Regions from separate parts of the Homo sapiens genome. Here regions 2 and 3 are each linked to region 1. Evidence: promoter capture Hi-C in 16 types of primary human blood cells and fetal thymus (Javierre and others, 2016). All regions are on one chromosome and are shown on one strand. The core of a region is centred on a gene start or on the middle of the fragment in contact, and the rest is flanking DNA. Distances in the headings are between cores, read along the strand shown.

Evidence for each region. The method cuts DNA at HindIII sites, captures the fragments that hold promoters and counts their contacts. A CHiCAGO score of 5 or more calls a contact.
Region 2: a contact is called between a fragment that was not itself captured here and the fragment with the promoter of NAF1 in region 1, in 1 of 17 cell types (naive B cells). The highest score is 5.1, in naive B cells.
Region 3: a fragment that was not itself captured here is called in contact with the fragment with the promoter of NAF1 in region 1 in 1 of 17 cell types (M2 macrophages); the score reaches 5.6 in M2 macrophages.

What each region holds. Positions count from the first base shown.
Region 1 is chr4:163,165,405-163,168,887 of GRCh38, reverse strand. It overlaps NAF1 (nuclear assembly factor 1 ribonucleoprotein), which reads left to right and starts at 1,998. Exons shown (of 8, transcript NM_138386.3): 1 at 1,998-2,525. The coding sequence starts at 2,161. RefSeq lists enhancers at 2,045-2,244, 2,265-2,384, 2,415-2,494, 1,986-2,853. The HindIII fragment of the contact is 3,845 bases long and covers 851-3,483 here.
Region 2 is chr4:163,682,513-163,686,434 of GRCh38, reverse strand. All of the region lies in intron 5 of MARCHF1 (membrane associated ring-CH-type finger 1), which reads left to right. All of the region lies in intron 1 of LOC107986325 (a long non-coding RNA gene), which reads right to left. Among named protein-coding and RNA genes, the nearest start is that of TMA16, 190 kb to the right of the region's middle. The HindIII fragment of the contact is 3,742 bases long and covers 141-3,882 here.
Region 3 is chr4:162,500,592-162,504,484 of GRCh38, reverse strand. No RefSeq gene overlaps it. Among named protein-coding and RNA genes, the nearest start is that of FSTL5, 340 kb to the right of the region's middle. The HindIII fragment of the contact is 6,861 bases long and covers 1-3,893 here.

The DNA.
Region 1 (3,483 bases), core at 749-3,248:
CACCATGCCCAGCTAAGTTTTTGTATTTTTAGAAGAGATGGGTTTTCGTCATGTTGGCCAGGCTGGTCTCAAACTCCCGGCCTCAGGTGATCTGCCTACCTCAGCCTCCCAAAATGCTGGAATTACAGGCGTGAGGCCCTGCGACTGGCCAACTTCTCCGTTTTTATTGGTAATACCAACTTCTTTCTAATTTCCTTGACCAGAAATTTTAGAGTACTTTTATTCTTCCCCTGATGCTGGGGATGTCCTTTACTCTATTTCATTGACTGTAAGCCTAGTTCAGACTTTTATCACCTAATTCCTGGAAAAATGCAACAAAGTGGCTGGCTGGGGAATAATTCTGGCTCAAACGTCTTCCCTTCTCAAATCTGTACTGCATGTCTTTGCAAGATCATTGTTAATTAAATATTTTATTCGTGAGTTCATGCATTGTTCCATTTTCCAAGTATTTTTGCACACTGAATGTATGACATGCCACTCCCTTATATAAAGCCTTACTTAGTGCTCACATGAACTAAATGAGATAGTATTTTTATCTCCATTTTACAGATAAGGAAATTAGGATTTAGATTAACTGCCCAAAGTCAGTAACACCAAACACAAAATGGTAGAGCTGAGGCCTGAACACAGGTCTTTTTAGTTGAAAACTCTGAGCTCTGCTTAATCATTGTGCTAGTAAGTTCGTATCCCAAGTTTAAAGTCCTTCTTCACTTTGGAGGATTTCCATGAAATAGCCTACCAATCCTACTTCCCATTTCTGCTGCACTTGGATTTTCTATTTCATATTTCAAATATTTTTCTAGTTATCTCCTGTGCATTGCCCTTCTCTACTTCAAGTAGATTGTAAGCTTCTTAAAACCTTACTCTTATTACACTTGCCTTGCATTTCTATGAAGATCTACTGTTGTAGATGACACACTAAATTCTCAGTGAATAATTTATAAAATCTTTAGCACAGTCCTTGGCACATATGCATGTTTAACAAATGGTATCAATGATTATTATTACTACACAGGGACTGATGCCTCAAACTGAAGACCTAATAGGAAACCAGAAAATTCTGATCTCTTCCTCAGTCCTAAGAACTCTGCTTGCTTTCTCCACAATTTAGACTAGTGGTTTCCAACAATAAGTGAGTACATTTCAGTCTCATAGTCTCATCTCTCTACTACGAAACAGTGCTAAGTATGATATAGACATCACCATAACATGAACAACACAGCAAAATTTTGTCCATTACTGCTCTCTTTGAGGGTACTTTGGAGAAAGGAAAATGGAATAGTTGTAGTTACATTTTTGAAAAAATGGTTAATACCCTATCTATCGACAGATGGATCTATTGATGGATAAACTTCATTTAACTTTCATGAAGTTACTAGCGTCTTGTCAAGACTTCCTGGCTCAAGTTTCTGATGTACAGAACTTAGCATTCTTCAGGCACCCCCCTGTTGTATAATCCCTGCTTCATTTTGGCGCTTCAAGCAGAATTGGTTCACATGCAGCAATAGGAAAATCCGACATTCAGGCCTTGAATGGTTCACATGACGCAGTGAAAACGGTCGATTTAGGGCCTCCCTAGTCCTGATTATTTTTTTTTGAGACGGAGTCTCGCTTTCTCGCCAGGCTGGAGTGCAGTGGCGCGGTCTCGGCTCACTCCAACTTCCGCCTGCTGGGTTCAAGCGATTCTCCTGCCTCAGCCTCCCAAGTAGTGGGAATTACAGGCACGCGCCACCATGCCCAGCTAATTTTTGTATTTTTAGTAGAGATGGGGTTTCACCATGTTGGGCAGGCTGGTCTGTGAACTCCTGACCTTGTGATCCGCCCACCTCGGTCTCCCAAAGTGCTGGGATTACGAGCGTGAGCCACGGCGCCCGACCCCCTAATCCTGATTTTCGAAGATATGACGCATGTATCCTGCCCCCGCGAGCGCCGTCGCGCCGTCGCGCCACATACGTCACACGCTCTTCGGAAAGCGTTGCTGCGTAAATGGCGGGGGCGTGTCTTTTGGCTCCTCCGCGTGTAGTTACCTGAGAAACGCGGGAAGTTGGGCCCAGGCAGTGTTGCTGCGGTTGCCTAAGTTGTTTTTCTATTTCTGGAGAGAGCCGTGAGCTTGTCCAGGGGCCCCAATCCTGAGGCCGACCCGGTTTCTGGCGCGGTGCGATGGAGGTAGTGGAGGCCGCCGCCGCTCAGCTGGAAACTCTGAAATTCAATGGCACCGACTTTGGAGTTGGGGAAGGTCCGGCGGCTCCGTCTCCGGGCTCTGCCCCTGTGCCAGGGACACAGCCGCCGCTACAGTCGTTTGAGGGGTCCCCGGACGCTGGGCAGACCGTGGAGGTTAAGCCTGCCGGGGAGCAGCCTCTGCAGCCCGTTCTGAACGCCGTCGCGGCCGGGACCCCGGCGCCGCAGCCACAGCCACCGGCTGAATCGCCGGCCTGCGGAGACTGCGTCACCTCCCCAGGAGCCGCAGAGCCTGCGCGGGCGCCGGACTCCTTGGAGACCTCGGACTCGGATTCGGACTCGGACAGGTCGGGTGCCTAAGGGACCCGGAGCTGTGGGGAGAGGTCTTGTATGACGGGCGGGGGTGGCTGGGGCCTAGGAGCCTAGAGGTTGCTTGTGTGGGCCCTGGAGGGTGGGCAGGTCGTTGGTGCTCCGGGCTCACGTGTTGAAGTATTGGCTCCGACTGCCCCTTATTCGCTGCCTCTCAAAGCAGGTCGCGTTGTGAATCTGAGCTTAGTACTGACTTATTTCCTAAATTTGGTGGCCTGAAGGGTTCTATGTATAGATCGTATCATTTTTTGTTAGACTTTAGAAAACCCGAGGATCTTAGGTTATTTCCGTAACTACTCAGTTTAGGCTGTACTTTTGTGGTTATAGTTGAGTTTTGTGTCAGATCTGATTTTTTTTTATCATCACATCTAGGCTTTGTTTTTTGAACCACATACATTGGGGATCAGGAAAAGTATTATTTTTTGTGTTTCAAAGCTGGCTCTTGATGATTACGTTAATTTATAGAATCCTTGCAGGGAACACGTGTTTATGAAAGTAGCCAAACAGTGTTATTTAGTAGTATCTTATGCTTCTTACGTTTTGTGAGAGCCTTTCCCCCTTGCCCCCACACCTGTCTTTTAAATATGAAATCTCTGGGCTGGAGAGGACTCCAGCATGTGGGATGTTACTAAACCACACTGAACATTGTCTACAAATAGTTGAGTGTGTTGAGTGGGGTACTGAACAGGTTAACAAGATAGACACGTGTTGAGGAGGTGAGAAGTTTAGTTTTCAGGGAAGTCATCAGCGGAGAGTGGAAGTGAAGAAGGCTGAAGGATTTGAGTAGAAGGAGAGGGTATGAAATGTACTGGGAGGGGGAAGTAACAACTGTAAACAAGGTTGGATTTCTTGGCAGTACTAAGATTGCAGTATAATCATCTTGTGGGATTTCAGAGCTCATTTTACTAGCAAAGAAAAGTAAATGGTAGATGATTT
Region 2 (3,922 bases), core at 762-3,261, 520 kb before region 1:
AAATTTGGTGCCTCCATTCAACTTTCCACTTATCTTATTCCCTATTACGTTTATTCACTCCCATGTGAACCCCAATGAAGAAACAGAGCAACATATAATTTGTAGATAGACCTTTTTCTGCCCAAGTATAACAAGAAGCTTTGTTTGCTGCTTAATGCATAATCAAATTATTTTTTATTATATCTGAGGTAAAAACATTATTTGATATGGAAAATTATTTTATTAACACAACAAAAGATTGAATTTAAAATTTCTGGAGTTTAGAACTTTATTATGTCTTACTAATATTAATAAGATCACTCAGTAAGCATCTGCTATATATAATTTATTAAGCACTTACTATGTGTTAAGCATTCCAGTAGGTACTATACACATGTTATTACTAAACCTGACAAGAACCCTTCTAGACAGATTTACAATTTGAAGATTATGAAACTAAGACTTATACTAAATAATTTGCCCTCAGTCCAAAAACAAGTTAGTGGAAGAGCCTGCATATTTAACCAGGTGCTGTACTCCAGGAGTTATTTGTCCACAGATCAAAGTGCCAAACCACCTCCATAATCCTCTCTGACTTTTCTTCAGTGTGACACACACAAAAGTGTAAATTGGCATCACAGATTATGTAGGACCAATACTATCAAAGAAAAGGGGAGTGATTTCAAAAATAATTGGAGAATTGGCCGGGTGTGGTGGCTCACTCCTGTAATCCCAGCACTTTGGGAGGCTGAGGCAGGTGGATCATCTGAGGTTAGAAGTTTGAGACCAGCCTGGCCAACATGGTAAAGCCCCATCTCTACTAAAATACAAAAATTAGCCTGGGGTGGTGGCGCATGCCTGTAATCCCAGCTGCTTGGGAGGCTGAGACAGGAGAATCGCTTCAACCCAGGAGGCGGAGGTTGCAGTGAGCTGAGTTCACGCTACTGCACTCCAAGCCTGGGTGACAGAGTGAGACTCTGTCTAAGACAATAAAAATAAAAATAAAATAAATAATTGGAGAATTAATGCAGTTGTATTAAGAAAAGATTGGGAGACTTATTTTGCTAGTCAATAGTAAACTATTTGGGTTTCTTGAGAAGGGGAATAGGATAATTAAAATGGAGCTTACTAATATGAGGCATTGTAAACTTGTCACATGTTTAAGATTTATGCATTTCACTACATTAAGTCTTCACTTAACTGCCGTCAAAATGTTCTGAGAAACTGCACCTTTATGCAAAAAAAAAAGTGTAATAAAACCAGATATTTTTTGTCAGAAATGTTGTAATAAAACGATTTTTAATGAAGGGAGTTGAGGACCTACTGTCCATCATTTTTCTTAAAGCCAGTTTCCAAGAACCTATTCACAATGTTAAGCAGGACTTACTGTATATGTAAATTTTACCTAACAAAATAAATGTACACAAATATTCAATGCTGTTTAATAGTTAATGATATGCATTCTGAATTATTTAGGAATGAGGTGTACTTTAGTGTGCAGCTTACTTTGACAGGCATCGTGGAAACAAGATACATTTATGAATGGATAAAGGGATGGATAGCTGAATAAATATGTGATAAAGTAAAATTAGAAAAGTTTCAGAAATGTGGATGTTGGATATACTGATGTTTACTGCATAATTCTTTCAACTTTTGTGTTTATTTGAAAATTTCATAAAATGCTAGAAAAAAGTAGATTCATTGGTAGCAATATATAGGATAGATTGGAGGAGCAAAGGGAAGAGAGAAATGCCCAGAGGCAATAAAATAAACTGGATATGGGCTATTGAGTACTTAAGCAATGCTGGTAACAAGAAGAAGTAAATATTGATCATGATATTGGTCATTTCATGATTTAAAATGAAGAAATAGGAGTTATCAGATAAAATTAGAAATGAAATACAGAATAAAATAGAGATGAATCTTATGAAGGAATTTCTAGCTTGGTAAAAAGAACAAATGGTAGTGCTCTCAAAATCTGGTGTTGAGGAATTGGTGTGACATGTAGCCAAATGCTGGCTTTCTTTTGAGGCATTTCTGTAGCAGTTTTGTTTGTTTGTATGTTTGTTTTGTTTTTTTCTTTTCTTGAGACTGTCCAAACTGGAATTCTTTCTGACATGGGCAACATATATTCCAGTTGATATTTCATGATTTTTCTAGAGCTCCTTTTACTTGCTACACCAACATACAATCCCTGCCACATGTTCTTCCTACAATGGGACATTGACACTCTTCTATTAATTGGAGGGCCCTATGTTCCCTTCTCCTTGAAACTAGGCGAACCTTTGCTACTTCCTTGACCAACTGAAGGTGGCTTAAGAGGTACTACGTGGTGGCTCCCAAGGCAAGGTCATAAATGGTGATACAACTCTTGCCTTTCATGGTACATACCTTGAGAGGCATAAAGGCTATGCTGGCTGCCCTGAAGCCCCCATGCTGGAGAAATCACACGGTTTCCAGAGAGAGAGAGAGATGCCCAAGGAGCTTCAGCTGTTTCAGCCCCAGCCTAGCAGGTAGACGTGTGAGTGAGTGAGTGAGTGAGTGAGTGAGTGAGTGAGTGAGTGAGCCTCCACATGATGTCTGCCTTGAGCCTTCAATCCTTTTTAGCTGATACCAAGCAGAGCCCCAAGGATTATCTTTGCTGAGCCATGTCCAGAATGCAGAGTTGTGAGCAAAATAAATTGTCATCATTTTAAGCCACTAAGTTTTGAAATAATGTGTTTCTCAGCTATCATAAGTCGAACACATGCATGGACCTTTTCCAAGCAGGTCCCTTTACCCCAGCAGGAAGACCTGATTTTGTTAAGGACTATTTAAGTTAACAGAAAATATGAGCCTTGTTCCCTATCAGTGTAAATACACCTCGTTCCAACTAGTTTTTTTTCTTCATTCTGCATTACTGTCAAGATTTGGTTAGTCCCTTATCTTTAATATTTTTTAGATGAGAGACAGTCTAGTCTCTACAGCTTCCAAAATCTAGATCATTGACGTGGTTTGGCTGCATCCCCACCAAAATCTCATCTTGAATTCCCACATGTTGTGGGAGGGAATGGGTGGGAGGTAACTGAATCATGGGGGCAGGTCTTTCCCGTGCTGTTCTTGTGATAGTGAATATGTCTCACAAGATCTGATGGTTTTATAAGAGGCAGTTTCCCTGCACAAGCTCTCTTCTCTTGTCGACCACCATGTGAGATGTGCCTTTTACCTTCCGCCATGATTGTGAGGCCTCCCCAGCCACGTGGAAGTGTAAGTCCATTAAACCTCTTTCTTTTGCAAATTGCCCAGTCTCAAATATGTCTTTATCAGCAGTGTGAAAACAGACTAATACATCATAAATATCAAACTGAGGTCTACCACCAATCCTTAGTGGCACCTCTATGCAAAGTAGAAAAGGCACCACTTACTCAAGATATTATACTTCTATTTGTCAAAAAATTATCAAAATATACTGATTTTATTACAACAATACATTTTAATGCCACTTGACTGAAATTATTTTGCTGTACTAAACTATAATATCTATGTATTAGCCCGTTCTCACACTGCTAATAAAGACGTACCCAAGACTGAGTAATTTATAAAGGAAAAAGGTTTAATTGGCTCACAGTTTAGCATGGCTTGGGAGGCCTCAGGAAACTTACGGTTATAGCAGAAGGGGAGGCAAACATGTCCTTCTTCACATGGCAGCAGGAACAGAACTGCTGAGCAAAGGGGGAAAAGCCCCTTATAAAACAATCAGATGTCATGAGAACTCACTATTATGAGAACAGCAGCATGGGGGTAACCACCCCCATGATTCAATTACCTCCCACTGGGTCCCTTCCACAGCATGTGAGGATTATGGGAACTAATCTGGCCCAAGCTGTACCTTGGCCCCTTTTAACCATGGCTGAACCTGAAGCTTAAGCAGCTGGAATGCAGGGCACCACGTCTCGAGGCTGCA
Region 3 (3,893 bases), core at 690-3,189, 660 kb after region 1:
TGGCAACTGTATATCCTTATTGGTGGCTTATTTCTAAAAGTTTGGATAATACAATGTGGTCATGAAGTCACACATGCAAGAAAGCAGAGGCACTGTTGTGTAATTCCATTGTCAGCACAAAATAGAATTTAGATTTCCTTTTATGTTTTTAGGGGGTAATGATATCACAGCTATCTGTAAGAAATAATCTAAATTTATATTTGATATTTATTATTCACACAGACCATAAAGAATCTCTACCTACTGTACTGAGCCTCTACTTATATGTTTTACCATTTTTGCTATTATATGAGCTTATGTGATGTTCCCCTCATTGCAAATCACCTTTAGTCACGTACCATCAAATTACTTGTCAGTTTTGCAAAAATGATCTTGTGTCTTCTCTTTTTCTCCTGTGTCATCAAATCACAAGATTTTTCCATCAATGTACATATGTCAAAATATCATCCTTCTTCAGGCACAATGCATCTACCCTACATGTCTCTGCTTCTCTTTTTTTTTTTTTTTTTTTGAGACGGAGTCTCCCTCTGTCACCCAGCAGGCTGGAGTACAGTGGTGCTATCTGGGCTCACTGCAAGCTCCGCCCCTCCAGGTTTAAGCAATTCTCCGTCTCAGCCTCCGGACTCGCTGGGATTACAGGTGCGTGCCACCACGCCCGGCTAATTTTTTTTTTTTTGTATTTTTAGTAGAGACGTGGTTTCACCATCTTGGCCAAGCTGGTCTTGAACTCCTGACCTCGTGATCCACCCGTCTCGGCCTCCCAAAGTGCTGGGATTACAGGTGTGAGCCACCGCGCCCGGCCTCTGCTTCTCTTTATAACAAAATTTTCTTAATGAGTTGTCAGTGCAAACTGCATCCTTTTTGTACCTTTTAATCTTTTTCTTGAAGGTTCTTCAGTCTTCCCCCTCCACCCCGTTGCTCCAGTAAAATAGCTCTTGTTAAGGTAACCAATGTTGACAAATTCAATGGTAATTTCTCTGAGCATAAATGTTTTATCAGCTGTATTAGATGTAGTTGGTCACTACCTTTTATTGAAGCCCTCTTTTCACTTGATTTTAGAGGTTTTTCTCTTTTTTAATTCTGGATCTGCATATTTGGAAACTCATTCTCAGCTTCTCTGATGATTTCTGCTCCTCTTCTAGTCGTTTAAACTTTTACACATTTCAGACCTCAATCCATGACATAGGTGTTTTCTAACTTATCTTATTACTTAAGTTTTCTCATTCAATCTCTGTATACATACATATATATGCTTATATATATATACAGTATAGTACTACTATATATAGTATAGTACTCTTTCTGTGTATGTAATATAGCACATATATATATTAAACTATGGGATATAATTTATAAGTATAGACTATACTATATATACATATATATAGAATATGTATACTTTTTCAAAATATATATATGTATACACACATGCCAATCAATACAAATGTCTGTCTCTAAACCAGATTTCTTTCATAAACTCCAGGCTTCTTGACATTTCCAGTTGAATATTTGGTATCTCAATATTGGATTTCTGAAATTATACTTCCTAAGCCTCCCATTCTGGTTTTCTTTTCCATTATAATAAGCACCACCTCATTTATCCAAGTCAAAATCTTTGAATTTTCTTTGTCTTAAAACAATCAATCCATCAGCAAATCCTGTAACTGCTATCTTCAACATTATGTACGGAAAACTAATAAGCAAGTTATTGCAAGGTTAAACGATGCACAATTACTATGCAAAAGTCTATTGCTTTTCTGTATACCAGCAATAAGCAAGTGAAATTTAAAATTTAAATAATATAAGATTGGCAATATCACTAAAATATGAAATACTTCACCACAAATCTAAGAAAATACATAATGTTGGTAAGTGGAAAACTAAAGAAATGTAATGAAAGAAAAAAAGAAGCTCTAAATAAATGAAAAGATATTTTGTGGTCACAAATTGGAAGACTCAATATTGTTAAGATGTCAATTTGTCCCAATTGATCTATAGATTCAAGAAAATTCTAATCAAAATCCAAGGAAGGTATTTGGTAGATATTGACAAACTGATCCTAAATTTTTCATGGAAAGTCAAAAGCCTTAGAATAACCAACACAATCAAGAAGAAGAGCACAGTTGGAACATTTTTAATGCCTCTTTTTATAGAGAGACAGTAAACAAGGCAATGTGTTATTGACATAGAATAGACAGAGAGATCTGTGGAACAAACTAGATGGACCAGAAAGAGATTCACACACTGATAGTCATATGATTTCTGATGAAGGATTAGAGTTGAAGACATCAAAATGACCTCATATTTAGTTTAATATAGATACAATGGCCATATGTAGAAATATTTACTATATATATGTAGTCATAGGATAGTATATATCTGTATTTCCTGCTCTATTAATTGAGCATCTCTGGAAACAATGACACCCCAGTAGCAACGAGCACACCTAGTGTCCAGATCTTGGTTTTTCATACCATTCTCCAGTAATTTTACTCCTTCACTGGAACACCTTGTAGCATCAAAAGATAGGTGCCCAAAGCACACAAACACACATGCACATACACACACACATACACACACACACACACACACACACACACACAATGATGAGAGTATGTCAAAGTGACACAGGATGCAATTAAAAGAGCCTCTAATGGCCAAAGCTGGGACAATTTGAGCAAAAATATAAAAATAAAGTAGTACTGGATTATACATCTAAATATAAAATAAATATTCATGAGCCAATACTTACATAAATAAATGATTGAATAAATAAATAAATGAAGAGAATAGGTGATTCTCCCATGCAGAAGAATTTCAAATAAGTAGATACTCTGCCCTCAAGGAAGAGGAACATAACTCTCCACTCCTTAAATGTTCAGTCATAGTGTTTAAGTTTTCTACCCGCCTCCCACATCATGGTGTAAAATACACATCATTTATAAATGCAATACCTTGGGTAGACAATCTAAGCATTATTCTTTCAAATATAGCCAATAACTCTTCTTTGTTCCAAGGCCTGTGGATATGATGTGGCATTATGATGACAATTATGTTCGTGTTGTCGTTATTTAAGAATCACTCCTAGCAGATGATTGTCTAACCACATGGTCAAAATATAAAATCATACATATGCAAGAGATTGCAATCCACTCTCCCTTCCCTCATGCCTGGGCAAATATATAAATTAGATTTCCAATTTGAGAATTGCCTCTTATCCACAGTTCTTTTTACCGGATCGACAATGCTTTCCTCTTCTACTGGGGAGTGCAAGTGCTTATTTTCATGTGAAGAACCAACTATTTCTCACTTTCAGGCAGTGTGATTTAGATCGCTTTGGTTTCACCTCCTAATTCTAAACCTAGTTATGTGATCCAGTGGAGATACTTAGGATTGCAGGAGTTGGTTCACAGAGAGGCGATGATTCAAGCCAAACCCAGGAAAACCAGGCTGGGAAACTAAAAATATATTTACATTCATGGAGACAAAACAAAATGTAACACTGGGGAAAGTGTATCTTAAAAAAAGCCTATAGGGGAAAACGATGTCCAAAGTTGAAAAGGTGTAGATTTGAAACATATTTTAATAATTGGATAATTGGGTCTAGTTGTGCTTAAAGCCAGACAGCTTTGACTTTTGAGTTAGGAGAATCCAGTGATTTACCTTTTCACTGGATAAGCCATTGTGAACTGGATCTTGATTTCTTGCCACCAAATGGGCCCTGCCCATTGCACCTCTCCACGCTCGCCCTCCCAACCCCCTCGCACTCCGCCATCCCCTGGAGGGGTGGGAGAGAGGAAATTTTTTTTTCCTGTTTTTATTTTACTTTGAGAAATTTAAAGAAAGACAACATTAAGACTAATTTTAAAAAATGCATTAGGCACTTGATTTTT